Linked DNA regions of Homo sapiens: regions 2, 3 and 4 are each linked to region 1. Evidence: promoter capture Hi-C in 16 types of primary human blood cells and fetal thymus (Javierre and others, 2016). All regions are on one chromosome and are shown on one strand. Each heading gives the region's core, a stretch centred on a gene start or on the middle of the fragment in contact. The rest is flanking DNA. Distances are from core to core; before and after follow the strand shown. Region 1 holds the start of MTCL2 (microtubule crosslinking factor 2). Region 2 overlaps DLGAP4 (DLG associated protein 4). Region 3 holds the start of MYL9 (myosin light chain 9). Region 4 overlaps TGIF2-RAB5IF (TGIF2-RAB5IF readthrough).

The links. The method cuts DNA at HindIII sites, captures the fragments that hold promoters and counts their contacts. A CHiCAGO score of 5 or more calls a contact.
Region 2: a fragment that was not itself captured here is called in contact with the fragment with the promoter of MTCL2 in region 1 in 1 of 17 cell types (endothelial precursors); the score reaches 5.9 in endothelial precursors.
Region 3: a contact is called between the fragment with the promoter of MYL9 here and the fragment with the promoter of MTCL2 in region 1, in 12 of 17 cell types (endothelial precursors, total B cells, M2 macrophages and 9 more). The highest score is 12.6, in endothelial precursors.
Region 4: a fragment that was not itself captured here is called in contact with the fragment with the promoter of MTCL2 in region 1 in 2 of 17 cell types (endothelial precursors and M2 macrophages); the score reaches 5.5 in endothelial precursors.

What each region holds. Positions count from the first base shown.
Region 1 is chr20:36,860,623-36,868,535 of GRCh38, reverse strand. MTCL2 (microtubule crosslinking factor 2) reads left to right here and starts at 4,998. Exons shown (of 15, transcript NM_080627.4): 1 at 4,998-5,878. The coding sequence starts at 5,192. RefSeq lists silencers at 1,378-1,447, 4,289-5,178, 5,249-5,398. The HindIII fragment of the contact is 4,947 bases long and covers 1,194-6,140 here.
Region 2 is chr20:36,475,399-36,483,311 of GRCh38, reverse strand. All of the region lies in intron 7 of DLGAP4 (DLG associated protein 4), which reads right to left. Among named protein-coding and RNA genes, the nearest start is that of MYL9, 62 kb to the left of the region's middle. The HindIII fragment of the contact is 1,221 bases long and covers 4,665-5,885 here.
Region 3 is chr20:36,536,915-36,544,827 of GRCh38, reverse strand. It overlaps MYL9 (myosin light chain 9), which reads right to left and starts at 3,309. Exons shown (of 4, transcript NM_006097.5): 1 at 3,267-3,309. The region is part of intron 2 of DLGAP4-AS1 (DLGAP4 antisense RNA 1); the gene reads left to right. RefSeq lists enhancers at 1-546, 547-1,200, 1,201-1,854, 1,855-2,508 and a silencer at 3,289-3,488. The HindIII fragment of the contact is 13,527 bases long and covers 1-6,859 here.
Region 4 is chr20:36,597,003-36,604,915 of GRCh38, reverse strand. The region is part of intron 2 of TGIF2-RAB5IF (TGIF2-RAB5IF readthrough); the gene reads right to left. Among named protein-coding and RNA genes, the nearest start is that of RAB5IF, 4.8 kb to the left of the region's middle. RefSeq lists a silencer at 1-222 and enhancers at 214-263, 4,759-4,828. The HindIII fragment of the contact is 4,513 bases long and covers 2,723-7,235 here.

The sequences.
Region 1 (7,913 bases), core at 3,749-6,248:
AGTGAGACTCTGTCTCAAAAAAAAGAAAGAAAAAAGAAAAAGCAGCAGCCGGGCATGGTGGCTCACACCTGTAATCCCAGCACTTTGGGAGGCCAAGGCAGGCAGATCTTGAGGTCAGGAGTTAGAGACCAGCCTGGTCAAAATAGTCAAACTCCGTCTCTACTAAAAATACAAAAAAAAATTAGCCAGGTGTGGTGGTGGGCGCCTGTAATCCCAACACTCAGGGGGCTGAGACAAGAGAATTGCTTGAACCTGGGAGGTGGAGGTTGCCGTGAGCCAAGATCACACCACAGCACTCCAGCCTGAGCAACACTGTCTCAAAAAAAAAAAAAAAAGGCAAGGCCCTAACTGTTCAGTGGCTCCTTGAATAACTCAGTTTAGGCCAGGCACAGTGGCTCACACCTGTAATCCCAACACTTTGGGAGGCCGAGGCGGGTAGATCACAAGGTCAGGAGATCGAGACCGTCCTGGCTAACACAGTGAAACCCCGTCTCTACTAAAAATACAAAAAAATTAGCCAGGTGTGGTGGCGGGCGCCTGTAGTCCCAGCTACTCTGGAGGCTGAGGCAGGAGAATGGCGTGGACCTGGGAGGTGGAGCTTGCAGTGAGCCAAGATCGCGCCACTGCACTCCAGCCTGGGCGACAGCTCTGTCTCAAAAAAAAAAAAAAAAAAAAAAAAAGAATAACTCAGTTTAAAGGCTGCCTCCTTGGCTGGGTGCAGTGGCTCACACCTGTAATCCCAGCTCTTTGGGAGGCCAAGGTGGGCAGATCACAAGGTCAGGATATCGAGACCATCCTGGCCAGCATGGTGAAACCCCCGTCTCTACTAAAAATACAAAAATTAGCTGGGCATGGTGGCGCATGCCTGTAATCCCAATTACTTGGGAGGCTGAGGCAGGAGAATCGCTTGAACCCAGGAGGCAGAGGTTGGAGTGAGCCAAGATTGCACCACTGCACTCCAGCCTGGCAACAAAGCTAGGCTCCATCTCAAACAAAAAACAAAAAACAAAAACAAAAACAAAAAAGGCTGCCTTCTCTGAGAGGCCTTCCTGACTCCCCTATTTAATGAGGTTTCCCGACCGATTCCTCTAATTTTCCCATAGCCAGTTGCTTGTTTTTTAATCTGTATAATGAAAAAACAAAACAAAACAACTTTAGTTTAAAAGGAAAAAACACACCTCCTCTTGGAAGCTTTCCAGGAGTGAGTCTCCATTCAGTTTTCATCACGTTGGTCAATTTAGCAGCTTGAATGGGAGAAATGAAACCGTTTTTCTACTTGGGTAATCAGCATCTTCACTTCCTATGTTATATAATTCTTACAAGGTAATGCTTCAGTCTCTTTTGAGTAGCGCTTTCTGCAGCACACACTGTGTGTCTGTGCTGGGCACTTCGCAGCCCAATAGGGTACCACAACAGGCCCTGGAATTGGGCAGCTCTGGGTTCAAGTCAATCCCAGCCCTGCCACATCCAAGCTGTGTGACCTTGGTCACACATTCCAGCTACCCAGTGTTATGTAACAAATGACCCCAAAACTTAGTGGCCGAAAACAACAATACTTATTTTGCAGTTTGGGCAGGGTTGGTGAGACAGCTCATTTCTGCTCCACTTGTCCACTGGGGCAGCTCCAAGTCTGGGGGCTGAATCATCTGCAGGCTCACTCTCTCACATGTCTGGTGGTTAGTGGGGACCAGAGCTGGAGTTGTTGGCTAGATCACCTTCATGCGGTCTCCCCATGAGGCCTGGGCTTCCTCCTATCATGGTGGGTGAGTGGCCAGAGAGACAGAGAGAGAGAAAGAGAGAGAGAAGCAAGCTGGGTGGAATCCATGTTGCTTTTTATGACCTAACCTTGGAAGTCACAGATGAACACTTCTGCCATACTCTGTTGGTTGAGACAGTCACAAGATCTGCTGAGATTCAAGGTGGGGGCACACAGTGCCCCCACACACGTGCCGCACACATGTGCCGCTCAATTGGAGGAGCATCAGTGTCACATTGTAAGAAGAGCAATTGGGATGAGATATACCCTTTGGAAAATATTAATCAGTCACAAGAAGTATCTTCACCTTTTGGAGATCCTTTACTGAAATGTGGAGCACAGAGCCCGGCACACAGGAAGAGGCCACGCATCACACAGCTGCAGGATGTGCCGGCGCAAGGACGGTCACCCCGTCTACAATGTAGCCAGTTCTGGACTCTCAACAAGTCTTATCTCCTTTGTGGTATCCCTGGTCTGAACTGACCCTGAGTCCACAGCCCCTACGTCAGCCCCACCTAGTCCCTCCCCACCAGAGCCCTGTTGTTCTCAAGGCTTCCCTGGGTCTACAATGTAGATTCTTGACTCCCCAAATCCAAAGCACCTCAGAGCAGGTGGGACCCACAGGCCCCTCCCTGGCCAGCCATGAGTGTTGGGCCCAGAGAGGATAGGTGGTAGAGCCAGGACTCAGATCCCTGCCCTAGAAGAGAGATGCAGGCCACTCTAATCTCAGGACCACTGATGTGACCAAGGGTGTGTCAGGAGTGGCTGAGCCAGCCTGGTCTGCTATGTCCCTGCATTCACACCACCCAACACCTCCAAACCTATGTTCTGCACAGGGGCAGAAACTGAAGCACAGAGAGAGGACACACTTTCCAAGAGCTTCACAGCATCTTTCTGTGCCAGACTAGATGCAGCCTACTAGAGCCAGGGGCATCTGAGCTGGATGGACCCTGTCATCTGTTACATTAGACCAGAGCAGGTGGGGACTCTGAGGCCCGGAATGTGGGAAGGCCTGCCCTGGGTCACTAGCCTGCGGCTCCCACATCCTTCTCCAGCACTCCTGCCCACATGCCATGCCACCCTGTTTGTGCTGAGTCTTTTGTGGTCCCCCCCAACACACACTGTGTGCTCCATGAGTTCAGGCACTGACATGCCCACCACTGCGTCCCTCAGTGTACCTGGCGCCTGTGCAAACAGGGTTTGTGGACAGTCAGTGGGCCGTGAGGGGAGCTGGTGTCTTGCTAGGAGGGGGTGGGGATGCCCCTGCGGAAGTGTTTGCCAAGAGCCTGCTGAGTGCCTGCTCCTCACTTGGCCGTATGGAGGGCACCTAGCGTTGGGGTGGAGGAGCACTCACTCACCTGGATCCAGATGAAGTCATGCCTCTGGAGAGAGGGGATGCCCCAGGAGTGTATTCACAGCGTGTGGGGGAGGTGGGACAGAGACAAAGAAGTGGACCTGGTGCCTGCTGTGTCACAGGCAGGTGCAGAGGTGAAGGAAGGGAATTGGGGGAGGAAGAAGAAGGAGAAAATGGGCAGGAGGAAGAAGAGGGGAAAGAGGAGGAAAAGGAAGACTTGGAAAAGGAGGGGGGAAAGGAAGGGGAAAGATGGGAGAAGAAGGAGGAAGAAAGAGCAGGGGATAAATGGGAGGGGGAGGAGAGAACAGGAGGAGAAAGAGGTTGTAAAGGGGCAAAAACAGCCCTGCCCTTCTGGTGGCAAGGGGTGTGGGGCACCCTAAGGACGAGGGTACATCTGTGGGGCAAAGCACTCAATCCAGCTCTGCCCTGCGGTGGCTCAGGGATGGGGGCGTAGCGGCCAGGCGGTGTGGGGGCTGGGGAAGGTGTGAGAGACATGGGAAAATCAACACGGCCAGGAGCCAAGGAGACGCCCAGACGCCCGGGAGGAAAGAAAACACGCCCATCAGAGCTCAAGTCCTCCTGCACTGCTCCTGGTGGGGACGTGTGGGGTCAGGGCAACCGTCCCAGCCCATGCCAGCCCCCACGGGGGCCAAAACCGCCTTCCAAAGCATCCGCTAGGCTGACATCTCGTAATAGGTCCCCTCCATTTTATTTTTGTTTTTATTTATTTGTTTATTTTTTTGAGATGGAGTCTAGCTCTGCCACCCAGACTGGAGTGCAGTGGCGCGACCTCGGCTCACTGCAACCTCCGCCTCCCGGGTTCAAGCGATTCTCCTGCCTCAGCCTCCCGAGTAGCTGGGATTACAGGCACGCGCTACCACGCCCGGCTAATTTGTGTATTTTTAGTAGAGACGGGGTTTCATCATGTTGGTCAGGCTGGTCTCGAACTCCTGACCTCGTGATCCACCCGCCTCGGCCTCCCAAAGTGCTGGGATTACAGGCATGAGCCACCGCGCCTAGCTACGGGTCGCTTCCATTTTAGCCGTACAGAGCCTGAAACCCGGGTCGGGGGCGCATGGGGAGAAATATCCGCCGGTCAAGGTGCGCGAGCCAGGCATGCACACAGGGCTTCACGGTCCCTATGCCAGGAGAGGGAAGCCGAGGCAGGGGGAGCCCGAGCGCGCCCGGGAGGTGTGAGCTTTGGGTCCCATCGGCGCCGCCTAGACCGTGAGCTTGGCGCGTGCACCCCAGGCTTCAGTTTACGCATCTGTGCGATGGGATCGCGGCTCCGGCGATGCCGGCTAAGGGGGCGGAGTTCGCGCACGCTCGGCACGGGGCGAGGGGCGAGGCGCTGGGCGTGCATGGATGCGGGTTCCTGCGAACTGAGGTCCGCCCGGCCTCGGCCCGGGAGTCCCGGCTCCCGCCGCTCTCGCAGGCCCTGCCCGGACGCCGGGCGCAGGGGCGCCTCCGCCGGGTGCCTTCCCCGAGCGGGCAGGGGAGGAGGCGGCGGAGCGGAGGAGGAGGGAGCCCGGGCCGCGGCTGCCCGCGCCAGCCTGACCCTCGAAGGGGTCGCTGTTGCCTCGCAGATCCCTCCCTCGCTCCCTGCCTGCGTCCCTCCCTGCCGCTCCCGCCGCGTCCGCCTTTTGTTCGCGGAACCGCGCGCCCCCGAGCCGAGGCGGCGGGGCGGGGAGCTGGCGGGGCTGCGCGGGGGGCGGGCTGCGCCGGGCGGAGCCGGGGCCCGGGCCGCAGCCGGACTCGGAGCCCGAGGGAGCGATCGGCGTGCGGGCGGCGGGGGCCCGGGCGCGCTCCGGGGGCGCGGCGAGGCCGAGGGGGCGGGCGCCGGGCGGAGCCGCAGCCGGAGCCGGGGCGCCTGGAGGCGGTCGGGCCGCACTCTCCGAGCCCAGAGCAGCGGAGAGACCGCGCGGCGGGGCTTGGGACGGGGACGCGGTGTCGGGGCCGAGGTGGGCCGAGAGCAGCCGCAGCCCCAGCGGCCGGAGCCGCGCCGGGTCCCTCCCCAGGGACGTCGAGGCCGGGCGGGCCTGGGCCATGCGCGCAGCTCGCTGAGGCCGAGGGAGGCCGCGATGGAGGCGCCGGCGGCCGAGCCCCCGGTCCGGGGCTGCGGTCCCCAGCCCGCGCCTGCACCCGCGCCTGCCCCGGAGAGGAAAAAGAGCCACCGCGCGCCGTCGCCGGCCCGGCCCAAAGACGTGGCCGGCTGGTCGCTGGCTAAGGGCCGCCGCGGCCCAGGCCCGGGCTCAGCAGTCGCCTGCAGCGCCGCGTTCTCCTCACGGCCGGACAAGAAGGGGCGCGCAGTGGCTCCCGGGGCGCGCGGTGCGGGTGTGCGGGTGGCCGGGGTCCGCACCGGGGTCCGTGCCAAGGGCCGTCCGCGCTCGGGTGCGGGGCCGCGACCGCCACCGCCGCCCCCCAGCCTCACGGATAGCAGCTCGGAGGTGTCGGACTGCGCGTCGGAGGAGGCGCGCCTGCTGGGCCTGGAGCTGGCGCTGAGCAGCGACGCCGAGTCCGCGGCCGGGGGCCCGGCGGGGGTCCGTACGGGGCAGCCGGCCCAGCCCGCGCCCTCCGCGCAGCAGCCCCCGCGGCCGCCCGCCTCCCCGGACGAGCCGTCGGTGGCCGCGTCGTCGGTGGGCAGCAGCCGCTTGCCGCTCAGCGCCTCGCTTGCCTTCTCCGACCTCACCGAGGAGATGCTGGACTGCGGGCCCAGCGGCTTGGTGCGGGAGCTGGAGGAGCTGCGCTCGGAGAACGACTATCTCAAGGTGGGGGCGCCCGGGTAGAAAGGGAGGTCGCAGGGGTCGCCGGCTGTCACAGTCCCGCGGGCCTGAGGCACCAGCCGGCCCTCCTTCCCACTGAACAATCCGGAGAAAGGGGCCCAAGCCCTCTGGGGACCACTCTGAGGTGGATCTGGGGCTCCCTCATTCCCCCCGCCCCCTCTCAACTTTATTTGGGAAGCGCGCTCCTGAAAAAGACCTTGGAACTGGCTACAGGGCCCTAACCTGGGAGCGGGGACTTGAGAAAGCTTTGGAGCGTTCTGGGAGGCGTTGCTGAGGTGGGGGTGGGTAGCCAGGGAAGGGATGGATCTCTGCCTTCAGCTGCCCAGAACCTCCACGCCCAGGCTCTCCTTCTTGGGACGGGATTGATAGACACCGCCGCCAGGGAAACCTGTGGCCATCCCCTGCCCAGGAAAGGCCTGAATGCCATCCTGAGTCGTTACCCAGGGCTTTCCCGGGCGCAGGCCTGTCTCTGCCTGCCTTTCTGGGCGGGTCCAGTTTGAAAGCATGACATCTGGGAACATCCCCTTGGCTGGAGTCCACTTCCGCCCAGCCTAACGGTCCCACAGCCTGGAGGATGATGTCGTGGGAGAACCGGTTCAGAGGCAGCTTCCTAAATCCCAGGACAGTGTCTTTTGCCCTCCCTGGGGCAGACCTTGTGCACACAACAGCCCCATTGGCCCCTCGTGGCCAGTGCCTTTCCATGTTCGCAGTGAGAGGAGGGCAACTGCCCACCTGGAACAGGACTTCCCTGTGGCCATGTGGGGACCCTAGGGCTTCCCCCGGACAGCAGGCTTTGCCTTTGCTTTTTCAGTGGACATGAGCACCTACTGGGTGCCAGCCGGGCTCCATCTGCACGCTTCCAGGTGCCATGGCAGCTTTAGGGACAGCCCAGCTTGCACGTGTTGACCTCTCCCTGGGAGGCTGGAAGCTTCCTGAGCTCTCCTGCCGCTGGCTGGGCACGGTTTTGGAGGAGGCTGAAATGTTGCCGACTCTTGTCAGTGGATGATGGCCTGGCACAACACCCAGAGTGCCCCTGGCTGTGGAGCTCACAGCATGCTGCTGGTTTATGTCTGCCCTCAGCACTTAGGTTTTAACTTTTCCTTGTGGCTCTTCTGACCAAATGGGCTTCTCCCTCATTAGAGTGTTGGTGTCTTGCTCAACTATGTCTCTGTCTCCCCATTTTCCCCGGGATCTGCTCTCCAGCCTGAGTTCTGTAAATGCTTGTAGTATGGAAGGACAAGGTCTGTCTGAATCAAGAGACACCTTTCCCCAAGCCAGGCCTCAGTCTCCTCATCCGTTAAATGGGAGGATGTCTTCCCAAGGGCCGGGTTCGGTGTTGGCAACTGGGAGTTCAGTCGGCTCTTTGAGTCTTCAGAAGCCGGTGGTAAGGAGAGGGCAAGTGGAAGGTGAGGAGGAGGAGGGAGGTGACGAGCCAGGACAAGGGTCTTTTGCTCCTGCCCTCTTGGTGCTCTGAGCTGCTTCCAGTGAGTGCTGCCTGAATTGGCCTTAACCGAAACTCTGAGTTCCTCACCCCTGCCTCCCGGTTCCTGCTACTCACTCTGGTGAAGGGGGATGGGTTGCAGAGCTTTGCTTCAGGGCTCCTAGGCACCCATCTCCATGGGCCCCTGTCCATCCCAGGAAGTCATCAGGCTCTGACCCAAAGTCTGTTTGAGGCACCCATGACTGTTTAAAGGGGAAAACAGTCCCAGGAGGCTGGGGGTTGAGCCCGGGATCTCACAGGGGCCGGGGTCCAGCTGGGGACATCCCACGTTTGGGCCAAGATGGAACCGTAATTTCCACCATTCATTCAGTGGCTCAGGCTTCGTGCTGCTATTGGATCTGGGGTCTGTCGCTTCCTGACGGCGTGATCTTTGGCAAGTTACTTAAAGGCCCTGGACCTTTGCTTTCTCATTTGTAAAAATGGGACAGTAACACGCTTTCCAACCTCAACGGTTAAATGAGCTGATTCCTGCAAACACCATTAGAGCACCTGGTATGTAGTAAACCTCTGATCACTGCT
Region 2 (7,913 bases), core at 4,026-6,525, 390 kb after region 1:
CTGACCACTGACCTCCAAATAGTATGTCCAAATAGCATGTAGTTTCTGAAAAACCATTTCTACTACCACTGCAGCCATATCCAGTAAGCAGCCTGTCAGGAACCATCCACTCCTCACCCATTATGTATTGGAATCTGCCACAAACATCATTTTATTTATCCTCAGAGACCCACCTGCAGAGTCTGCTCTGCCAAGAGCTCTGCTCAGTGGTCCCTGCCCCAGCCCACCCTGGACACCTTATTACCATCATCCCTAGGAATCCAAGCTTTAAAGAGATGGTAGCGCCCAAGCTACTGTTACTAAATCACGATCTTGTTGTTTATCAAAGCTATAACCATTTGGCCGGGCATGGTGGCTCATGCCTGTAATCTCAGCGATTTGGGAGGCTGAGGCAGGGGGATCACTTGAGGTCAGGAGTTTGAGACCAGCCTGGCCAACATGGTGAAACCCTGTCTCTACTAAAAATACAAAAATTAGCCGGGCATGGTATCTCATGCCAGTAATCCCAGCTACTCAGGAGGCTGAGGTGTGGGGATCACTTGAACCCGGGAGACAGAGGTTGTAGTGAACCAAGATCATGCCACTGCACTCCAGCCTGGACAACAGAGTTAGACCCTGTCTCAAAAAAACAAAAACAAAAACAAAAAAACAACCCACGAGAAGCAGGTGCTAGTAAGCAGGAGAAACCGCCCAGTTACAAAGCTGCCTCGGCTCCAGCCCAGTGCAAAAACTTGACATGTGCAGCCCGCTTGGTCTGGTGAAGGACTGAGGGTAGAGAATGCAAAATGTGGCTTTTCAAATACTGGCTGTATCATACGAGCTTTGCTGCTACCTTTCCAAAGCCCTAAGATCCCAGAGCCCAGCCTGGGAAGTATTACTTGGAAAGAGCCTCAAAAAAACTACCCTCACTTCTGGAGGGCTGATGTCAATGGAGGGCTGACTTCAAACCCTGGCGATAGGTCACAAAAGCCCGGCTTTCACCAACTGTCATAGGCTGTGTGTCCAGTGTGCAAAGCCAGACGCTGCCAGGCCCTGTGCACCTCGATTGCTGGCCTCTTTCACCATTCTGAATGACCAAGCGAATCCCAGAATAGAAAGGCAGTGTTAACAAGCTCATTCACTGGGCCTGGAGTGGCAGGTGGCATATCAGGTGACAGGAGTAGGAGCCAAGATCCCTCGGCAGCCTAGAGTTGGGATGAGACGAATAGTGCAGGACTGAATGGGGAAAACCGTGAGTTCACTTCAGGTCAGCAGAGGTAATGCTGCCTGTCTCTGTGCCAGGCACACCCGGGGGACAGAGACACAGAAAAACAGAGGGATTTTTTTTCCCTCAGAGCTTATATTAAGACCCTGAGTTTGGGAACCCAAGTAAGACAATTACACAAGAAAAGCGGCATATGTGGAAAAATGGCTTAGTGACGTCAGCTGACCACAGACACTGAGGATGCACTGTTACAGGAAAGTCACAGGACCAGAGAGGGCGCAGTCCCCACTGAACTCTGGATAATACTGAGGGTATCATAGGTAATTCCAGGCAAGGGATATCGTCAAACTGGAACCTGAAGACAGAAGGTGATCCACACAGGGAGAAGTCTCAACTCCACCCCATTCCAGCAAATGCTTATTTACAGAGGGAAAGCCATGCACAGTGCCAGCCACTAGGGACCCAGAATGAGTAGTCCTTGTCCTCAAGAAACCCATAGAAATGTGGAGATGACAATGAAAAGCCTCCTCCACTGACTGGGCACTGTGGCAGCCATATGGAGTTGCATGAGAAAGCCCAGGACTGATTCAACAAGTGATTAGTGTGTCTGGGACGGACTTGTCACAAACGGGGCGTGTGACACATATGCACCAAAAGTTGTGCTTAGCGTAAAGTGAGGGATGGCTTGGAGAGGCTAGGATGGTCACCCTGGAGAAGAGAGACAATTTAAAAGGGCATGGCTACTGTCCTCAAATACCTAAAAGACTGTCAAATACACATGTAGCCCCAGAGGGTCACACTACAATCAGAGGGGAAAAGGAAGGTGGGGATTGTTAATGGAAGTAAATTTTGACTAATTATAAAGAGGAGCTTTCTAAGAAGCAGAGCTGGCCAAAGATGGAAGAAGGACCTAGAAAATGGCCAGCCAGGCTAGACACAGGCAGGATGGATGCCAGGGAGGAAACTGAAGTCCCCATGGGTGTGACTTTTAAGATTCCTACCGGGCCTGAGACGCTCTTTGCCCTTCTACTTTACATCCAGTTCTGGACGTGATACCACACATCATCTTTGTGTGCATGACATTCATAGTTCAACATTTTTTTTTTGAGACAGTCTCACTGTCATCCAGGCTGGAGTGCAGTGGTATGATCACAGCTCACTGCAGCCTTGATAGCCCGGGCTCAAGCAATCCTCTCACCTCAGCCTCCCAAGTAACTGGAACCACAGGGGTGCACCACCATGCCTGGCTAATTTTTTTAGTTTTTGTAGAGATGAGGTCTCACTATGTTGCCCATGCTGTACTAGAACTCCTGGGCTTAAGCAATTTTTCCACCTAGGCCTCCTGAAGTGCTGGGATTACAGGCGTTGAGTTACCGTGCCCAGCCAACTTTTTGTTTAGAGACAGGGTTTCACTCTGTCACCTAGGCTGGAGTACAGGGTGTGATCATAGTTCACTGTAGCTTCAACTTCCTGGGCTCAAGTGATCCTCCCACGTCAGCCTCCCGAGTAGCTAGGACTACAGACATGTACCACTGCTCCTGACTAATTTTTTTAATTTTAATTTTTTGTAGAGACAGGGTCTCACTATGTTGCCCAGACTGATCTCAAACTCCTGGGCTCAAGCCATCATCTCACCCTGGTCTTCCAAGTGCTGGGATTACAGGCGTGAGCCACTGGTCTTTTTTACCCCCCTACCTCCGGAGAATTGTTATCAACAAACAGCGAAATACAAAATGAGAATGTTCACACAGCCTAGCCACACGGGAAATCTTGTGAGGACTAACACCAGGGCTTCAGACAGCAAAGTCTGGAAGTAAAACACCTTCGTCTGGGAAGTCTAGCTGCATAAGAGCTCCCATCTGAGATGATAAATCCATCCTCAGAATAGGAGATCAGCTGATACTTGCTACCCTGCCCCCTTCAAAATACCTGCTATGACAGAAACTGCCAGTAGGTTAGGAATCCCTGGAATCAGCCTTCATTCAGTGTATGACTTAAGCTCCTGGGTCTGAATTTCTCCCATCTATAAAATGAGAATAATGCGGCTTGCCCTGTCTATTGCCCTAGGACTGCTGTGAGTTTCCCAAGACAGGTGGGAAAGGGCTTGGCAGGTGAGGAACTGTCATTACAATTGCCTGAGGAGCCTAAACATCTCCTGAGCAAAGGGCCCACGGAGCTGCTGCCCAATCCCAGGCCCTCCATGGACTCTGCATGCCAGAAGCTGAGGATTTCTGGCCTGGGGCAGAAATGAGGGGTCTCATCCTGTCCAAGGACTAAGTTCGGGAAGATTCATTGCCCTGCCCAGCACCCCCAACCATCCAGCCCCTCGACACCGCACTGTAGCAGCACCATTCTAACATTTTAGTGTAGGGACCACTGGCCTCTCTGCCTTGTCAATCACCCCTCTAACTCTCCATCACCCCCTTCATGCCAACACACCATGCTCAGCTTCCAGGCCTCTGTGCTGCCTGAACACCCTCTTCCTCACTGATTCTGCCTCCTCCTTTAGGTATCAGTTCCAGCATCACTCCTGCCAAAAAGCCTTCCCTAACAGTCTTCCCAGGCCCCTGCCCTGGCTCACTCACTGAACAACATCCCACATTCAGGCACACCACAGGCCCTTGCCCACCACACTATTTTTACAAACCTCTTTACTTTTCTGCTTCCTCCTTTAGACCCTGAGCCTCCTGAAGGCAGGGTGGCATCCCTGTGACCTCCAATCCTGGCTCAAAAGAGGTACCCAGGTGAATGCCTGTTGACACTTAGGAGGCAGAACCCCACCCTCTCATTTCACCCTAAAAATGACACAGGCTGGCAGAGCCCTCATCCTAGAAGACTTTGAAGACTCTAAGTAGAGAAGAGTAAGAGACAACTTGGCAAGCAGATGACAGTGATGCTGGAACAAGTCTTGACTATATGTCCCCTCATGCCCACAGAGCCCGCCCCACTCAACGTTCCTCTCAACTACCTCTGAAAGCACAACATGGTAACATCTGGGAAGATGTCTTTGAAAGAACATCTACCAATCAGAAGGTCACCAACCACCCCATCCTGTCCATAGAACTCTGCCCCAACAATGGCACAGGGTCAGCCACACTGAGGAGTGGCTGAACATTAGTGGCTAATAATCACAGTTGCCAGATGTTTTTCACCTGCTCAGGAATTGGTGGTTATTGCAGTAGCCCAATCACCATCTGAGGTCCTAACCTCTGCATCTTACATTTGATCCCCTCAAGGAGATGTTTTCATCATCACCCCTGTGCTACTAAGGAAAAAGGAGGCTCAGAGAGGTTGAAGGCTCTGTTCGGGATCACACAGTGAGTCATGTTCTATCTGCTAAGTGAGTACAAACCCTACAGGTTTCAACTTCCAGAATGCAACCTTCACAGGATCCAGCCTCACAAGTAGTAAAAATACAAGCTTGCTTCGGCAAGACTGACACATACATTCCTACAAAGCTTAGAAGCTGCTGTAGATAGCCAAGTTTGTCCTCCTGCTCTGGTTGGTGGAATCTGACTACAGTACACTCTCATAAACATCCCGAGGCCAGGCAGCATCCCAAGAAACATCTGGAGAAAACAGACTTTACCTTGATAACATCTACCCCCTGGGAGCTGCTCTGCCCTGATGTTTTTGCAAACATACTTCCGAAGGCTTCGAACTGTCCTGCCAGACTCTTTTCTGCTCTCACAAAGAGACCTGTGACATCAATTGCCCTTCATAGTCCTTTCCCCTCCCAGGACTGCCACCCATCTGTAAAAGCAGGGGACTGCACTAGATTAGGGAGGGCACAGATTCCACTGGGCATGCTACTTCTGGTTGATTGGTTTTGCCTGTGTCGAGAAGACTCCTCACGCTGTATCCAGGGGTCAATGGGAGTGCTGTGGCTGATGCTGTCTGCCATGGGTCCAGTAGGAGGGGTAATTGCCCAGTGCAAGATATTTGCTGTCCCTGGACAAGATGATCACCATGAAAGTCATTTAGGACTCTAGTCCTATGACACAGAATTATTGTCTTTATTCCCTACCCAAATCTTTACCCTCTATCCTCCCTCACAGGCCCATCAACACTGGAGCTTCTTGAGAAATGTTTCAAATCCAGTAAGACGGAAAAGCAAACATCTATTTCAAGTCTACTGTCCTTCGAAAGACTGACCAACAAGAAACCTTAAAAAGCTGCAACTTGTGGAGGGTAGCTGGGTTTCAGCCCAATTTTACCAGTGAAGTGCCGTATGACCTTGGGCAAGTCCCTGTATTTCTGGGTCTCCACTACTTCTACAAATTGGGATCAGGCGTCCTATTTTCCTTGCATTTAACTGCATCCAAACACTGTGCTAGGATTCTCAAAACTGCAAAGGAAGTCCATCATCTGTCTCACTGACTCTGAGTCATAAATATGTTGGAAAGTATTGTCCCATTTCCCAGAAGAGGAAGCTGAGGCTGAGGCAGGTGGAGGGACTTGGCCCAAATCCTAGAGCAAGTAGCTAATGAAGGAATTATGCTTGGGTCCTGTGATCAGATCCACAGCCTTCCTCATCCCATTATCCTGCCTCCATAGGGGGCAGTGGCCAGGCTCCTCAAAGCCACCAGGGGCTTTGGAACCAAGGCTACCTCTGCAGAGGAGGCTCTCCCAGATGATCAGTCCCTTAGCAATTCTGCCAGGATAAGGCCACACATAAGCTTAGATGTGCATTGTGCATTAACTTGGAGAATTGCCTGGGCATGGTGGCTCATGCCTGTAATCCCAGCACTTTGGGAGGCAGAGGCGGGTGGATCACTTGAGGTCAGGAGTTCAAAACCAGCCTGGCCAACATGGTGAAACCCCTCTCTACTGAAAATGCAAAAATTAGCCGGGCGTGGTGGCGGGTGCCTGTAATCCCAGCTACCTGGGAGGCTGAGGCAGGAGAATCACTTGGACCTAGGAGGCGAGGTTGCAGGGAGCCGAAATTGTGCCACTGCACTCCAAGCTGGGTGACAGAGACTCTGTCTTAAAAAAAAAAAAGAAAAAAGAGAAAAAAACAAACTTGGAGAATTAATCACTACCATAAGAGTTAATTATTCAGAGCATTCCCCTCAGCTGCCCTTCAAATATATCTCCTTAAAATGGGCCAGAGAGGGCTGGGCATGGTAGCTCACGCCTGTAATCCCAGCACTTTGGGAGGCTGAGGCAGGCGGATCACCTGAGGTCAGGAGTTTGAGATCACCCCGACTAAAATGGAGAAACCCAGTCTCTATTAAAAACACAAAATTAGCCGGGTATGGTGGTGCATGCCTGTAATCCCAGCTACTTGGGAGATTGCTTGAACCTGGGAGGCGGAGGTTGCGGTGAGCCAAGATTGTGCCATTGCACTCCAGCCTGGGCAACAAGAACGAAACTCCATCTCAAAAAAAAAAAAAAAAAAACCAAAAAAAAAAAAAAAATTGGGCTAGTGAATGAGATACCTAGAGTAATAGAATTCATAGAAAGAATGGTGGTTGCTGGCCAGGTGCGGTGGCTCACGCCTGTAATCCCAACACTTTGGGAGGCTGAGGCGGGTGGATCACCGGAGGTCTGAAGTTTGAGACCAGCCTGACCAACATGGTGAAACCCTGTTTCTACTAAAAATATAAAAAATTAGCCGGGCATGGTGGCAGATGCCTGTAAGCCCAGCTACTCGGGAGGCAGAGGGAGGAAAATTGCTTGAACCTGGGAGGTGGAGGTTGCAGTGAGCCAAGAGAGCGCCATTGCACTCCAGCCTGGGAGACAGAGCGAGACTGTGTCTCCAAAAAAAAAAAAAAAAAAAAAAAAAAGGTGGTTGCCAGGGACCAGGCAAGGGGGTAATGGGGAGTTAGTGTTTAATAGGCACGGAGTTTCAGTTTGGGAAGATGAAGAGTTAAAGAGACGGATAGTGATGATGGCTATACAACAATGGGAATGTACTTAGTGCCAATGAACTGCACACTTAAAAATGGTTAAGAAGGGCCGGGCGCGTGTGTAATCCCAGCACTTTGGGAGGCCAAGGCAGGTGGATCACCTGAGCTCAGGAGTTTGAGACCAGCCTGGCCAACATGGTGAAACCCTGTCTCTACTAAAAATACAAAAATTAACCAGGTGTGGTGGCGCGTGCCTGCAATCCAGCTACTCGGGAGGCTGAGGCACGAGAATTGCTTGAACCCGGGAGGCGAAGGTTGCAGTGAGCCGAAACTGCGCCACTGCACTCCAGCCTGGGCGACAGAGTGAGACTCTGTCTCAAAACAAACAAAAAAAAGGTTAAGATGGTCATTAAGACAGTGTTAAAAATGGACTAGTGAGCGGCCCACTGAAGAATGAGCCCCAGCAGTTATCAAACTGCTTTGATTTTACTCATTCCAAACCTAAAAGTCACAAATAAAATATTTAAAACTAAGCATTTTTAAAAATTTTCTGATTTGAGTTAACTGTATTTGTGAGCAAGGGCTGGTTAATAATCTGCCTACAATCTCTTTACTGAAATTCAGCAAATATAAATAAAAGAAAAATAATCCAAACAGAAAATAAAGATCAGAGGTGTACAAAGGCAGTAATGGATGTGTTAGTATCATAGAATCTTGGACAGGAATTGGGTAAGAGATTGTATGGAGAGCCGGGCTTGGTGGCTCACGCCTGTAATCCCAGCACTTTGGGAGGCCGAGGCGGGCGGATCACAAGGTCAGGAGTTCGAGACCAGCCTGGTCAACATGGCAAAATCCCA
Region 3 (7,913 bases), core at 2,060-4,559, 320 kb after region 1:
GTGACTCTGGGCCAGGGAATCTTCCTGCCTCCCCCAGACTGGCTTTTAGCACTTCGGCCTGGCATTCAAGGCTGCCCACGGATTTGGGGCTCCCACCACCCAGTTCTTCACAAAAGCAGACAAGTGTGGCTGTGTGATTCTGAACAACTTCCTCTACCTCTCTGAGCCCGAGAGTCTTCATCTGGGACTGGAGACATGAGGAGTGCCCAGCAGTAGGGATTAACTGACTCAGTGCCCGAGAGCTCCTGGAACAGTGCCGGGCATGGAATCAGCTATTTTGGCTGTGACTGTTTGGGTAAAACACTTAGGATTGGGCTTGGTGCCAACCATTACCATGCTTTATCTCCTTTAATCCTTAATAGCATTTACACTGTCCCTCTCTCTTTCCAAGTGACAAGGTGGGTCCACTCGTGGGAGTCAGTGAGGGCTCTCCTGGGCTGCCATCCAGGCTCCCTGGCCCTGCAGGAAGGAGCTGGATCAGCATTCCTGCATTCCTGCCGTTCCTCACTCTCCCACTCCATCCCTCTGCTGCCCGCCTGAGGTTCTAGGAGGCTCTGGGCAGTCAAACCCCCGCCTGTCCACCTCAGGGAGCTTGACCAGCCCCCCAGTGGTGAGTGGTCACAGACTGATCCTGGGTCCCACTCCTTGTTCTCACTCCCCACTGCTTATCGGGGTGTGAGGCTTGCTTGGGCTGAGAACCCCAGCTTCTTCACCCTTGCTTAGACCTGGCTTCTTAGCCTCCAGCCGGCCTCTTCTGTCCCATACAGACCCTGACCTACACCTATCATTGTGAAGCCCTTGAAGGTTCCTGCCGCCCCTCAGAGCAAGTCTGGGTCCCTCATCCTGGCATTCAAGGCCCTGTGTGAGTCCCTCCTGGCCTCTCTGACAGCCCTCGTGGTGTCCCTCTTGTGACCCACAATCCTACCCTTCTGACCTCTGCAGTTCCCTGGACACTCCCAGGCTTTCCTCTGTGGTCCCCTCCTCCCCTGTGCTCTTTCTTCTCCAGCCCAGTTCTTGAGACCGCCCCCCTCTCCTAGGGAGCTGTTCCCTGTACCCTTGCTTCCACAGTAAACACTTAAAGATCTCTCTCCCTTGTGGGCCAGCATAGATCCCCCAGTTTACACCAATCCCAGGCCATAGTTGGGCTAACAGATGCTTGTTTGATGAATGACTATATGAAGGCAACTACGGCCAGTCTGCTGCTTCTACTGTACAGATGGGGAAACTGAGACCAGGCCTGGGACTGTTTCCCTGAATGCTTGCCACAGCTTGTGGGGATATGCGCCTGAAGACCCAGTGCCTCCTTCCCTCGGCTGGGGCAGTGGGCCTGGCTGAGGTTCCAGGACTGCGGCCCCTCTTCCCTCTGCCCAAACCCCCGGGCCCAGGGCCTCCAGGAAGCCTCCTCTGCCTGTTGTTCACCCCAAGCTGTGTGGTTGCAACTTGAGCTGTTTCCAGGCCTTCCTCCCATGACTCTGTTGAAGTCATTCTCGGTCCTTGGCCTTTGAGATCATCAACCCTGGACTGGGATCCCGGCCAGCCCCAGCTGGTCCCCAGGGCCATCACTGCCTGTAGTCATGAGACAGTGGTTGCCCGTGTCCCACGGACCGACACACCCAGCCCTCAGTGTTTCTTGCATGGTTCAGGAAGGTAGACAGAATTCCTTCTCACCCATGACCTAGTTGGGAGTGCCATTGTCCCCAGATGCCGGCCCCCTCCTCTCCCGTGCTTTAGAGGGGCCTAGTCCTTCCCTGAGTCCAGTGTTCTCGGGAACTTTGACTCCTGGTGCCCACAGAAGGCTGCATGCAGAGAGGCAGTGCACTGTGCCCAACAGAGGCTGTGATGGCCATCACTGTCCCCACCACACTCTATGAAGCTCTAGGGCAGGCATGGCCAGGCCACCCACAGCTGGGTCTGAGCCCAGCTGGGCCCCTCTGCCTTCATGGCCACCCGGTCTGCACTCTCTGCTGTGGTGTGGCTGGGAGCACTGTACTTAAGGGCTTGCACAAGGCCGCCATGTCCACCCCAGCAATTGTGGGAAGTGGTGAGCGGAGGCAGGGGTGCCCCCATGGTGCAGCTAGGAAAAGAGGCCCCAGAAGGGGAGTGGAGTGCCCATGAGAGGGGGAGGGGCCACCTGGAAGACAGGATTCCTGGGCTAGGTTTGGGTCAGTGGAGAGCAAACTTGGCTGCTGGTGCCCTCGAGGCTTGAACAAAACAGGGAGCCCCAGTCCTCAGGCGGGCCTGTGGCAGTGGAGTGGGAAAGGGCTCTGTGTATCCAGAGGCGCCTTCTAGAACTGGTGGAGGGGCGAGGGGCAGGCATGGGTGGGGCCTTTAGTTCTGAGGCCATCGCTTCCCCCTTCAGGTGCCCTAGACACCAGGGGTCAGCACTGATACTTGGCCTGGATGTGACTGGATGCCATGTCCCCCATCCTGGTGTCCAGATTCCCACCATAACAGAAAAGGCTGGGCTGAAGCCAGCACAGGGCAGTGCCCCCATGACCTCCAGCCCCTGGAGCTGGGCAGGCCAGATGCCTCCTTCTCAGTGCACCTCATCTGAGTCTCCTCCTTAGAGCAGCTGGAGGGCTGGGAAGAGCAGGGATCAGGTTCTCCCAGCCACTAGTCCTCGTCCTGCCCCCTAGGGGTGAGTCCATCAGGGCCCTCCGCAGACCTTCCCCACCCACAGGCGAGATGACCCAGAGAGGGGAAGGCCCGGGTCCCTGCATACAGCACTGGCTGTGTCGGAAGGGCCCCCTGGTCTCGGTCCCTTTCCCCTGGCCCAGGGTGTAGGGATGGGAGATGGGGAGGGGACACAGATGCTGTGGGGGCGTGGAGTCCCACAGGGCTGTTTCTCCATCTGTGACACACATGCCTTTACTGGGCCAGGGGGAACTGACGACTGCAACCCTCTCCCCAGCACCCTTGTACCCGGGCTCCCCAGCCCCCCCCGGAGCTCTGGGCTTGGCATCTCCAGCTCCTCAGCAAAGGGGCAGGGCCTGGACGATGGCCTTCCCTTGCCGCAGGACCACTGCTTCTCAGAGGCCAGAACAGCCTTCCTGCTGCCCGGCCCCTGGCCAGAGTCCCTGTCGGCCCCCAGCAAACTCGCTGCCCCAGCTCACCCCTCAGTCCGTGCCCAACAGACCCTACCACGTCCCAGTCCGTGGGGCCCGCCTTTGCCCCCCGTGACAGCCGGGTCGGGCCCGGGCCACCTCTCATCTCCAGCCCTGGGCCGTTAGGCCTGTCCTCAAGACCCCCGGGGCCCCGGATCCCACCTGGTGCGGAGAAGGCGCTTGGGCTCGCTGGGTGCGTGGAACTGGGCCGGCCGTCGGGTCTGGACTCCAGGCGGGGGCGGGGCGTGGCGGCCGGGCCTTACAAGGCAGAAGAATGTGCGCGGGGCGGGGCCGCGGGCGGGGTGCGGGGGCCCTCGGCTGCCGTCCGGCCTTATTTGGCCTCGACCCACGGGCTGGCAGGCGGGGGCGCTCTGGGGTGAGCCCCCCTTCCTTGCTGTGCCAGCCCGGGCTGCACAGAGGGCCTTGTAGGGAGGGGAGGTGATGGGGTGAGCAGGCAATGGGAGAGGGGGTGTGGGGGTTCGCTCTGGGCCACCCCTTCCCCTCCAGAGAGGCAAACGGAATGTCCAGGGCCGCTTCCCCAGAGGCCTCCCACTTGTATGGGCCGTGGGAGTGCAGCTTCCCCTGACGGGCAACGGCTCTCGACGTGGGGAGGGCAGAGGCGGTGGGTGGGGGGGCTCCCAGGGACCCCTACGCCCGGTGACTCGCTCTGTCCACATCAGCGGTCGCCCGCCAGAGCGGGGTTGAAGGAACCACTCGGGAAGCACTGGTTTCGTGGAGGGAAACACGATGAACAAGTAGCTCCGCGGCCTGGGGCCTCAAAGGAGAAGGGGACCTGGGGGGAGCGTGGGCTGTTCCGCAGGGTGCTCTGGGCAGTGACATTGGGCAGACAGGAGGTGCAGGGGTGCGCCCCGCCGTGAGGGCTCCCGGGCTTGGGGTCGCCGGCAGCAGGAGGTCAGGAGGATGGGGGCGGGAGCCGGAGGGGCTGAGAAGCAGCAGGGACCCCTCTGTGGCTCCCTGTAGGCCATGTGGGGTGTCGGAGGGTTCCGAGCAGGGGGTGACGACCTGGCTTGGGTTTTGACGGAATCCTTCTGGGTGATGTGTTGAAAATAGCGCAGAGGGGGCCGAGTCCACGAGCAGGGGACCTGTGAGGAGCGACCCAGCAAGGATCAGGCTGATCCGGACTAGCGGGGAGGCCGAGGGACAAGTGCTAAAACTATTTCCGAGGTGCAGCCGGTAGGATCTGCTGGGGCATGGGAATGGGTGTGAAAGAAAAGAGTTAGGGTGGACTCTCAGAGTTTTGATGTGAGCAACGAGAAAGAGCTGCCATTTTCTATGATGGGTTTGCTGTGTGGAGCAGTTTGGGGATAAGAAACTCTATTTTGGACAGATTAATTTTTAAAAACTTTATTTTGAAATGATTTCAGACTTAGGATAAAGTTAGAAGAACTGTGCAAAGAACCCTGTATAGCTTCATCTAGATTCTCCATTTGTTACCATTGGGTTTTATTATATTTTCTTCTTGCTTTCCATATACATATACATATATATAATACATGTACATACATTTATATTTATTTATTCCTACCCCCAACCATTTGAGAGTTTCTTGCATACGTATGTCCTGTTATCTCTACATGTTTCAGTGAGTACCTCCTAAAAAGGAGATTCTCTTAAATATGCATAGTACAATGATAAAAGTCAGGACAATTTTCACATTGATTTAATTACCTAATTTACAGTCCATATTCAGGTTGTGCCAGTTATCCCAATAATGTCCTTTAGAGGAATTTTTTCTGGTCTAGGAGCCAAAGTAAGATCATTTGTCATCACATTTCTTCAGTGTCCCAGTTTTACATTTTATTTTTTGATTGTGGTAAAATATACATAACATAAAATTACCATTTTCAGCGTGTTTTTTTTTTTTTTTTTTTTTTTGAGATGGAGTCTCCCTCTGTCGCCCAGGCTGGAGTGCAGTGGCGCCATCTCAGCTGACTGCAAGCTCCGCCTCCCAGGTTCATGCCATTTTCAGCATTTTTAAGTGTATAGTTTGGTGGCATTAAGTATATTCACTTTGTTTTGCAACCATCACCACCATCCATCTCCAGAGCACTTTCATCTTCCTCAGCCGAAACTCCCTGCCAGTTAAACACTAACTCCACCTTGCCCCCTTCTCCCCGCCCCTGGCAGTCATCATTCATCTTTCTGTTTTCTGTGAGTTTATCTACTTATTGGGGCCTCATGTAAGTGGAATCATATAGCATTCGACCTTTTGTCACTGGCTTATTTCACCCAGCATAATGTCCTCAAGCCCCAGGTTCATCCATGTTTAGTGTATATCAGAATTTCTTTTTGGGGGTGGGGGGTTGAGATAGGGTCTCACTCTGTCGCCGTGGGTGGCATGCAGTGGCACAATTATAGCTCACTGCAGCCTTGACCTCCTGGGCTCAAGCAATCCCCCTGCTTTGACCCCCTCAAGTAGCTAGGGCTGCAAGCATGCACCAGCACACCCGGCTAAGTTTTCTTTTTTTTTTTTGAAACGGAGTCTCGCTCTGTCACCCAGGCTGGAGTCCAGTGGCGCGATCTCGGCTCACTGCAAGCTCTGCCTCCCGGGTTCATGCCATTCTCCTGCCTCAGCCTTCCGAGTAGCTGGGACTACAGGCGCCCGCCACCATGCCCGGCTAATTTTTTTTTTTTGTATGTTTAGTAGAGACGGGGTTTCACCGTGTTAGTCAGGATGGTCTCGATCTCCTGACCTCATTATCTGCCCGCCTCAGCCTCCCAAAGTGCTGGGATTACAGATGTGAGCCACTGCGCCCGGCCCACACCTGGCTAAGTTTTCTACTTTTGTAGAAACAGGGTCTCCCTGTGTTGCCCAGCCTGGTCTCAAACTTCTAGCCTCAAGCAGTCGTCCTGCCTGGACCTCCCAAAGTGCTGGGATTATAGGCCTGAGCCACTGTGCTTGGCCCCGGCTAATTTTTTAAAAAATTCTTTTTGTAGAAGTGGGATTTTGCCATGTTGCCCAGGCTCTCGTCCTTTTTAAGGCTGAATAATATTCCATTGTTTGCATAGTTTGTTTATCTACTCATCATGGATGGACACTTGGGTTGCTTCCACTTTTTGGCTATTCTGAATAATGCTTCAGTGAACATGGGTCTCTTCAAGTTCCTGCTATTGTTTTTTTAACCTGACATTGTGAACATATAAGTCTCTGTTTTCAATTCTTTTGGGTATGTGCCCAGAAATGGAATTGCTGGATCAAATGGTTATTCTATTTTTAACATTCCGAGGAACTGCAATAACTGTTTTCTGTAGTGGCTGTACCATTTTAAATTCCCATCAACAGTGTACAAGGGGCCTGGTGTGGTTGCTCTTGCCTGTAATCCTAGCACTTTGGGAGGCCTAGACAGGTGGATCACTTGATGCCAGGAATTTGAGACAAGCCTGGCCAGCATGGTGAAATCTTGTTCTCTACGAAAAATACAAAAATTAGCCAGGTGTGGTTGTACACGCCTGTAATCCCAACTACTCGGGAGGCTGAGGCAGGAGACTCACTTGAATCCGGGAGGCTGAGGTTACAGTGAGCCGAGATCGCGCCGCTGCACTCCAGCCTGGTGGACAGAGTGAGACTCGGTCTCAAAAAAAAAAAAAAAAAATTCTTGGCCCATTTAAAAGAGCAGGGTTGTTTTTTTTTTGATTCTAGGCGTTTTAAAAATATGTTTTGGATATTAATCCCTTGATATGATTTGTAAATATTTTTCTTATTCTACAGGTTTTCTGTATTTTAAAGAAAAGCTTAAATTGTTATCTTTTATAAACCATAAAATTCACCTATGAAATGTACAATTCATTGGTTTTAGTGTATCTACAAAGCTATGTAATTATCGGCACTACTATGTAATTCCATAACATTTTAGTAAGTAATCCCCCAAAGAAACCCTGTACCTGTCAGCAGTCATTTCCCATTCTCCTCTCATCCCAGCCCCTGGAGACTATGGATCTACTTTCCCTCTCTATCAGTTTGTTTACTGTAGAAATTTGTTTTTGTGTTTTGAGATGGAGTTTCACCCTGTCACCCAGACGGGAGTGCAGTGGGGCTCACTGCAACCTCTGCCTCTTGAATTCAAGTGATTATCCTGCCTCAGCCTCCCTAGTAGCTGGGATTACAGGCACCTGCTACCACCCCAGCTAATTTTTGTATTTTTAGTAGAGATGGGGTTTTACCATGTTGTCTAGGCCGGTCTCGAAATCCTGACCTCAAGTGATTCACCTGCCTCAGCCTCCCAGAGTGCTGGGATTACAGGTGTGAGCCACACGCCTAGCCAGCTTGTTTACTCTAGAAACTTCAAACAAATGCAGTCATACAATGTCTGGCTTCTTTCGCTTAGCATAATATTTTCAGGGATCATCCATATTGCAGAATGTCCCGGGACCTCAGTCTTTTTCATTGCCAAGTAGTATTCTGTTGTATGGCTATATGCTACATTTTGTTTTTGCATTTGTCAGCTGATAGACATTTGGGTTGTTTCTACTTTTTGTCCATTATGAATATGGTGCCGTGAACATTAATCTGCAGGTTTACGTGTGGATATACGTTTTCACTTTCTCAGGTATATAAGAGTGGAACCGCTGGGTCATATGGTAACGCCTCTATGTTTAACCTTTTAAGGAACTTCCAAACAATTTTGCACAATGTTGTCCCATTTTGAATTCCCACCGGCAGTGGATGGTTCCAGTTTCTCTACTTCTTCACTAATACTTGTCTGTCTGTGTTTGTATTAGAGCCAGGGTCTCACTATGTTACCCCAGGCTGGACTTGAACTCCTGGGCTTAGCAGTCCTTCCACCTCAG
Region 4 (7,913 bases), core at 3,730-6,229, 260 kb after region 1:
CTTCTGGACAGTGGATTTTTTTTTTTTTTTTTTTTTGAGACGGCACGGTCTCTGCTCACTGCAACCTCCACCTCCCGGGTTCAAGCGATTCTCGTGCCTCAGCCTCCCACGTAGCTGGGATCACAGGCGCCCACTACCACGCTCCACTAGTTTTTTTTGTATTTTAGTAGAGACGGGGGTTTCACTATGTTGCCCAGGCTGGTCTCGAACTCCTGAGCTCAGGCAATCCGCCCATCTTGGCCTCCCAAAGTGCTAGGATTACAGGCGTGAGCCACCTCACCCGGCCTCTGGACAGTGGATTTATAAAGACAAGTAATGTATCTGGTACCTGGGTGTGTCTGACTCCAGAATCTGTGCTCTTAACCGTTAAACTTTAAAGCTGAGAGTATCTTTTTTTTTTTTAAACAGGTCAGAGTATCTTTTGCATACCTATCAACATTCACCTGTAATTCTTCACTTTTCAGGAGTAATAGAACCTCCCTAGGGAGGCCAGGCGCAGTGGCTCACTCCCATAATCCCAGCACTTTGGAAGGCCGAGGTCGGTGGATCACTTGAGGTCAGGAGTTCGAGACCAGCCTGGCCAACATGGTTGAAAGCCCGTCTCTACTAAAAATGCAAAAAAAATTAGCCGGGCGTGGTGGTGGGGACCTGTAATCCCAGCTTCTCAGGAGGCTCGAGGCATGAGAATTGTTTGAACCTGGGAGGTGGAGGTTGCAGTGAGCCAAGATCGCGCCATTGCACTCCAGCCTGGGCAACAGAGCAAGACTTGGTCTCAAAAACAAAACAAAAAACAAACAAAAAACCTCCTAGAGAGCTTTTCCAGAATACTATAGCTGCTGTTTTCCACCCCAAGCCCACCCTGACATTGTTTCAGTAGATTAAGTGGGGCTGGACCCCCAAGGTGAAACATACTGTGATCACGTTACTGTCTGGAACTGGTGGAAGGGCCGTATACGTTATATGGGTGCACTCCTTTTGTCCTAAGTTTCCCCGTGGGTCTTGTTCTTTTCAGCCCTGCCTCTTTTCTGATCCAGTTTCCCTCCCATATGAAATGGTAAAGCTTAGCCAGTTGAAGGAAATCAAAATATTTTACCCCAAAATATGGCTCCCTAGTATAATGACTATTTTAGTTTAGTTTTTAAGACAGGGTCTCACTCTGTTGCCCGTGCTCAAATGCGGTGGCATGATCAGGGCTCACTGCAGCTTTGATCTTCTGGGCTCAAGCGATCTTCCCACCTCAACTTCCCAAGTAGCTGGAGCTGCAGGCACAGGCACATGCCACCAACCTGGCTAAGATTTTTTTTTTTTTTTTTATAGACAGAGTCTCACTCTGTCGCCCAAGCTGGAGTGCAGTGGCATGATCTCAGCTCACTGCAACCTCTGCCTCCCAGATTCAACCAGTTCTATTGACTTAGTCTCCCCAGAAGCTGGGAATACAGATGCGTACCACCACAACCTGGCTAATTTTTGTATTTTTCAGTAGAGATGGGATTTTGCCATCTTGTCCAGGCTGGTCTCAAATTCCTGACCTCAAGTGATCCGCCTGCCTCAGCCTCCCAAAGGGCTGGGATTACAGGCATGAGCCACCACACCCTGACAGGTTTGTTTTTTTTTGTTTTTGTTTTTTAATTTTCTGTAGAGACAGGGTCTCACTATGTTGCCTAGGCTGGTCTTGAACTCCTGGGCTCAAGCAGTCCTCCCACCTCGGTCTCCCAATGTGTTGGGATTACAGGCATGACCCACTGTGCCTAGCATAATGAATATCTGAACTTGAAAACCTAATCAAGGTGCTGGAAGAGACTTTTCCCGTATCTACATAAAGATATGACTGACCCACCAAGGAGAAGAGTTCTTGTTCCTCTCCCTGTTATCTCACTTTCTTTTTTTTTTGGGACGGAGTCTCGCTCTGTTGCCCAGGCTGGAGTGCAGTGGCGCGATATCGGCTGACTGGGTTCACGCCATTCTCCTGCCTCAGCCTCCCCAGTAGCTGGGACTACAGGCACCCGCCACCATGCCTGGCTAATTTTTTGTATTTTTAGTAGAGACAGGGTTTAACCGTGTTAGTCAGGACAGTCTTGATCTCCTGACCTCGTGATCCGCCCGCCTCGGCCTCCCAAAGTGATGGGATTACAGGCGTGAGCCACCACACCCAGCTATCTCGCTTTCTATTGCAGAAGAGAAGACAGTGTAACCACACCTGAACAGACCCTTTTTCAAGGTAATGACTGTCTCCAAGAATAATTTAAATTCCAAAGATAACTATTTACAGGTTAATTTCTGTTTCTGATCCATTCTTCCTAATAATCATTTGTTGTCCCTCAGTAAAATTCCTTGCTCCCCCTTCCCATAACCTGTTCTACCAGGATCCAAGCCCCCATTCTTTCTGTAACCTCAAGATGGTACAGAAGCTTCTGTACCTGGTCGGGTGCAGTGGCTCACACCTGTAATCTCAGCACTTTGGGAGGCCGAGGCGAGTGGATCACCTTAGGTTAGGAGTTCGACACCAGCCTGACCAACATGGAGAAACCCCATCTCTACTAAGATTACAAAAAATTAGCCGAACGTAGTGGCATGTGCCTGTAATTCCAGCTATTCAGGAGGCTGAGGCAGGAGAATTGCTTGAACCTGGGAGACGGAGGTTGCAGTGAGCCGAGATCGTGCCATTGCACTCCAGCTTGGGCAACAAGAGCGAAACTCCATCTAAAAAAAAAAAAAAGAAGCTTCTGTACCTTATTGGGGAGTTGGGGAGCTGGGTCTTCATTCTGAAGACTCCTGTGTATACACGTTAAATCAAATTGTATGCCTTTTTTCCTGGTAATCAATCTGCCTCATATCACTGATTTTCAGGGAAACTTCAGAGGGCCAAGAGCTTCCAAACTGACTGGTTTGGAAGTGTACCATTGTTACAAAACCTCTTTTACAGACTCCCTGCTGGCATGTAGTTCAGAAGACAAACTAATGAATCTGTCACAGAATGTTGGAAGAATGACTAGCCCTTGGCCTAAAGGTAAGTTTTCACTCTGCCAGGTCTCCCCCTGGTGAAGATGTATAATGGGGAACCTGATCTGGGGGGATTAGGGAAGGGTAAACTCTGAAGGAAGACATTAGAAGGAAAAGAGGGAGGTGAAGGTGGGAGATAACATTTAGGGAAATGAAACCATGTGGGCTAATGGTAAGGAATGAAGCCACCAGAGGGGAAGCACGGGAGAATCATGCTGAAGAGTTTGCTTCTTATCCAGGGGTAGGGGAAGCCATCAGGTTTGCATCTTAGAAGGATCATGCTTGCTGCTATTTGGGGGACTGGATCAGAATGGGGGACTAGTTAAAAGGCTGTTAAAGTCATTTAGGTGAGAGTTGGTGAGGGCACTGAAGATGCAGAAAACTGGATTCAACAGTTCTTTTTTTTTTTTTTTTTTTTTTGAGACGGAGTCTCATTCTTGTTGCCCAAGCTGGAGTACAGTGGCATGATCTCAGCTCACTGCAACCTCCACCTCCCGGGTTCAAGCGAGTCTCCTGCCTTAGCCTCCCGAGTAGCTGGAATTACAGGCGCCCGCCACCACGCCTGGCTAATTTTTTTTGTATTTTTAGTAGAGACAGGGTTTCACCATGTTTGGCCAGGCTGGTCTCGAACCCCTGACCTCAGGTGATCCACCCACCTCGGCCCCACAAAGTGCTGGGATTACAGGCGTGAGCCACCATGCCCAGCCCGTTCTTTTTTAAATTAAACATATTACTTATTTATTTATTTTGGAGACAGAGTCTCGCTCTGTCGCCCAGGCTGGAGTGCAGCGACACCATCTCAGCTCACTGCAGCCTCTGCCTCCCAGGTTCAAGTGATTCTCGTGCCTCAGCCTCTGGAGTAGATGGGATTACAGGTGTGCGCCACCACACCTGGCTAATTTTTTGTATTTTAGTAGACATGGGGTTTCACTGTGTTACCCAGGGTGGTCTTGAACTACTGAGCTCAGGCAATCTGCCTGCCTCAGCCTTCCAAAGTGCTGGGATTACAGGTGTGAGCCACCACACCCAACCAAATTAAAAATATTTTTAAGGGCCTGGCATGGTGGTTCATGCCTGTAATCCCAGCACTTTGGGAGGCCAAGACAGGAGGATCACTTGAGCCCAGGAGCTCAAGACTAGCCTGGGCTACACAGGGAGACCCCGTCTCCACAAAAAAAAAAAGAAAGAAAAAAACAATTAGCCAGGCATGGTGGTGCACACCTGTAGTCCCAGCTATTTGAAGGCTGAGGTGGGAGGCTTGCTTAAGCCCAGAAGGTAGAGGCAGCAGTGAGCTGTGATCATCACACCACTGCACTCCAGCCTGGGTGACAGAGTGAGAGACTCTCTCAAAAAAAAAAATTGTTTTTTAAATTTTAGTAAAATATATCTAACAAAGTTTATCATTTCAACACTTATTAAGTGTACAGTTCAGTGGCATTAAGTGTATTCACTTTGTTCTGCAGCCATCACCACCATCCATTTTCAGAACTTTGTCACCTTGTAAAATTGAAACTCTGTACCCATTAAAAATAACTCCTCATTCTCCCATTTCCCCAGTCCCTGGAAACCAGTTCCATTCTACTTTCTCTGTAGGAATTTGACTGTTCTAATGGGTATCTCATAGGAGTACAGTATTCGTCCTTTTGTGACTGGTTTGTTTCAGTTAGCATTATGTCCTCCAGTTTCACCCACGTTGTAGCATGTGTTAGAATTTCCTTCCTTTTTAAAGCTGTTGTATGTACATACCACATGTTGCTTACCTACTGATAGACATTTGGGTTGCTTACACTTTGACTATTCTGAATAATGCTGCTATGAATTGGAGTGTACAAATATCTGTTTGTGTCCCTGCTTTGTTATTTTGGGCATATTCTCAGAAGTGGAATTGCTAGATCATATCGTAATTCTATTTTTAATTTTTTGAGGAAGTGTTGTTTTCCACAGCAGCTGCGGCATTTTACATTTCCACCAGCAGTGCACAAGGGTTCGGAGATACATGTTTTTTTTTTTTTTTTGAGAAGGAGTCTCGCTCTGTTGCCCAGGCTGGAGTACAGTGGCACAACCTCAGCTCACTGCAACCTCCGCCTCCTGGGTTCAAGCGATTCTTCTGCCTCAGCCTCCCAAGTAGCTGGGATTACAGGCACCCGCCACCATGCCCAGCTAATTTTTGTATTTTTAGTAGAGACAGGGTTTTGCCATGTTGGCCAGACTGGTCTGGAACTCCTGACGTCATGATCCGCCTGCGTCGGCCTCCCAAAGTGCTGGGATTACAGGTGTGAGTCACCGTGCTCAGCCTTTTTCTGCTGTTAATAATCATCCTACTAGGTGCAAAGTAGTATTTTCACTGTGGTTTTGATTTGCACTTCCCTAGTGATTAGTAATGATTGAGCATCTCATTAGACAGTATTTTTTTATGTCATATTTGTTTTTTCTTTTTCTTTTTTTTTTTTTTTTTGAGACAGAGTCTCGCCCTGTCACCCAGGTTGGAGTGCAGTGGTACGATCTTGGCTCACTGCAACCTCCACCTCCCAGGTTCAAGGGATTCTCCTCAGCCTCCCAAGTAGCTGGGATTACAGGTGCCCACCACTATGCCCAGCTAATTTTTGTATTTTTAGTAGAGACGGGGTTTCATCATGTTGGCCAGGCTGGTCTCGAACTCCTGACCTCAAGTGATACGCCCACCTCAGCCTCTCAAAGTGCTGAGATTACAGGCATGAGCCACTGCGTCCGGCTCTAGGTCATGTTTGTATTACATTGCGAAGCTCTGACCGTAACTCCAAGAGCCATTATGTTTGCATGGGATTGGGAGAGGTCACAGAAAGTTCTAGTTGGAAGGGTCCTCAAATCCTGCAGTGTAGCCCAAGGTCATAAGGGAAGTTAGAAGTTCAACAGGCATCTGAAACCTGATCCCTGTTCCTCCTCTTACCTCTCTAGGAGCAGACAAAGCTAAGCTGGCAGCCAGAGGGGAAGCCCTTGTCTAAAAGGTATTTTTGGGACTCAGACTTGTTCCCTATTTGCTTTCACCCAAGGCTTTCCTTATCTTAGGAAGCGGGGAACCTGGCTGAATCTCAGTGAATCCGTCTGGTTAAAATAAACATCTTGGGTGGTCTGAGTTGGAAAATAACTTGATGAAGGGTCAGATTTGAAAGTGGGAGAGACAGATTTGGAAGTAGGACAAATTTTGTCTTTGTGAGTTTGTAGCTGTTTAGTACTAGTTGAACACATGAGCTCAGCCTTAGGGCTATTTCCCAGCTGAATGCCTCGATAGCACTGCCAGCTGCTTGGAGTGGGGTTTGGAGAGGAAGGTATATTCTGAGGGGTAAGACTGGCCCCTCACAGGCACTGATGGATCACAGGTATCAGAAATCCTGGGGGCAACCATCAGCCATGGAAAGAGCACCTGTTGTTGGAATGGAGGTCTGAGATTGCATCCTGGTCTTTTTTTTTCTTTTTGGCCCACAATAAATGTCATACTAGCACTTAATGAACCCTCACTAGCTACCAGTCACTTCACTAAATGTTTTACATTCATTTGTTTTGTTTTGTTTTTGAGACAGTCTCACTCTGTCACCCAGGCTGGAGTGCAGTGGGACAATCTCAACTCACTGCAACCTCCACCTCCTGGGTTCAAGCAATTCTCCTGCCTCAGCCTCCGGAGTAGCTGGGACTACAGGCACCTGCCACCATGCTCAGCTAATTTTTGTATTTTGTAGAGATGGGGTTTTGCCACGTTTGCCAGGCTGGTCTCAAGCTCCTGACCTTGGGTGATCCACCCGCCTCGGCCTTCCAAAGTGATGGAATTACAGGTATAAGCCACTGCATCTGGCTACATTCGTTTTCATCCAAAACCTGGCTGGGCTTTTAACCATTAACCATTATGCTAAACTCTTCTCTTTTTATACCTTTACTTGCAATTTCTCTACATCGTGTGTGGATTACTTTGGTAATTAAAATGGTAGGGCTACACTTGACCTTCAAGTTACCATAGCCTCCTGGGAGCAAAGACGTCAGATGGTTCAGAGACCCTTCTTCCTCTCATCTTGTAACTTTGAAAGACAAAGAGTTGCTACTTTCCCAGCCCAGTAGTTTCCTGGGGATAGGTCAGTGTCCTGATAATGAATGGTGAAGGTCTCTGGAGCAAGATCATCAGAATCTCATGTGGCATCAGTGAAGAATGCAGATTCCTGCCCAGACTCTCTGGGCGTGAGGTCTGGGAATATGCATCTTTGTAAGCTTTCCTGATGATCTTGATGGATATTTAGGCTTGAGAATTACTTCTCTGGGTAATTAGGCCCAATTCTGCCACTTAAAAGCTGTGTGGTATGGGGTAAGTTATTTTACAGGTTGTTTTTCCCTCAGCTGTGTGCTGAGCAAGGATAGATAGTAACGTATAGATTATCCTATTTCATCCTCCCAAGAGGTAAGTATTACTATTCCCACTTTATTGATGATGAAAACTGAAGTTTGGAGTAGTGAACTGTCTTGCCTATGGTCATGACAGCTAATCAGTGACAGACCAAGAATTTGAAACCAGGCTTGGGTCATAGAGAAATGCCTTTGAAATCAGTAACACTGACAGCAGTGATGGTTATTTCTGCATCCTTCGAGTGCCACACCTTATCCTCTGCAGCTCTAGTGCATAACATAGCAAGGATACAGCCATACAAGGCAGACCTGGCCTCTGCCATATGGAGTTTTCATGTAGCAGCTTTCTTTTCTTTTTTTTTTTTTTGAGACGGAGTTTTGCCTTGTCACCCAGGCTAGAGTACAGTGGTGCGATCTCGGCTCACTCCAACCTCTGCCTCCCGGGTTCAAGCGATTCTCCTGCCTCAGCCTCCCGAGTAGCTGGGATTACAGGTGCCTGCCACCGCGCCAGGCTAATTTTTGTAATTTTAGTAGAGATGGGGTTTCAC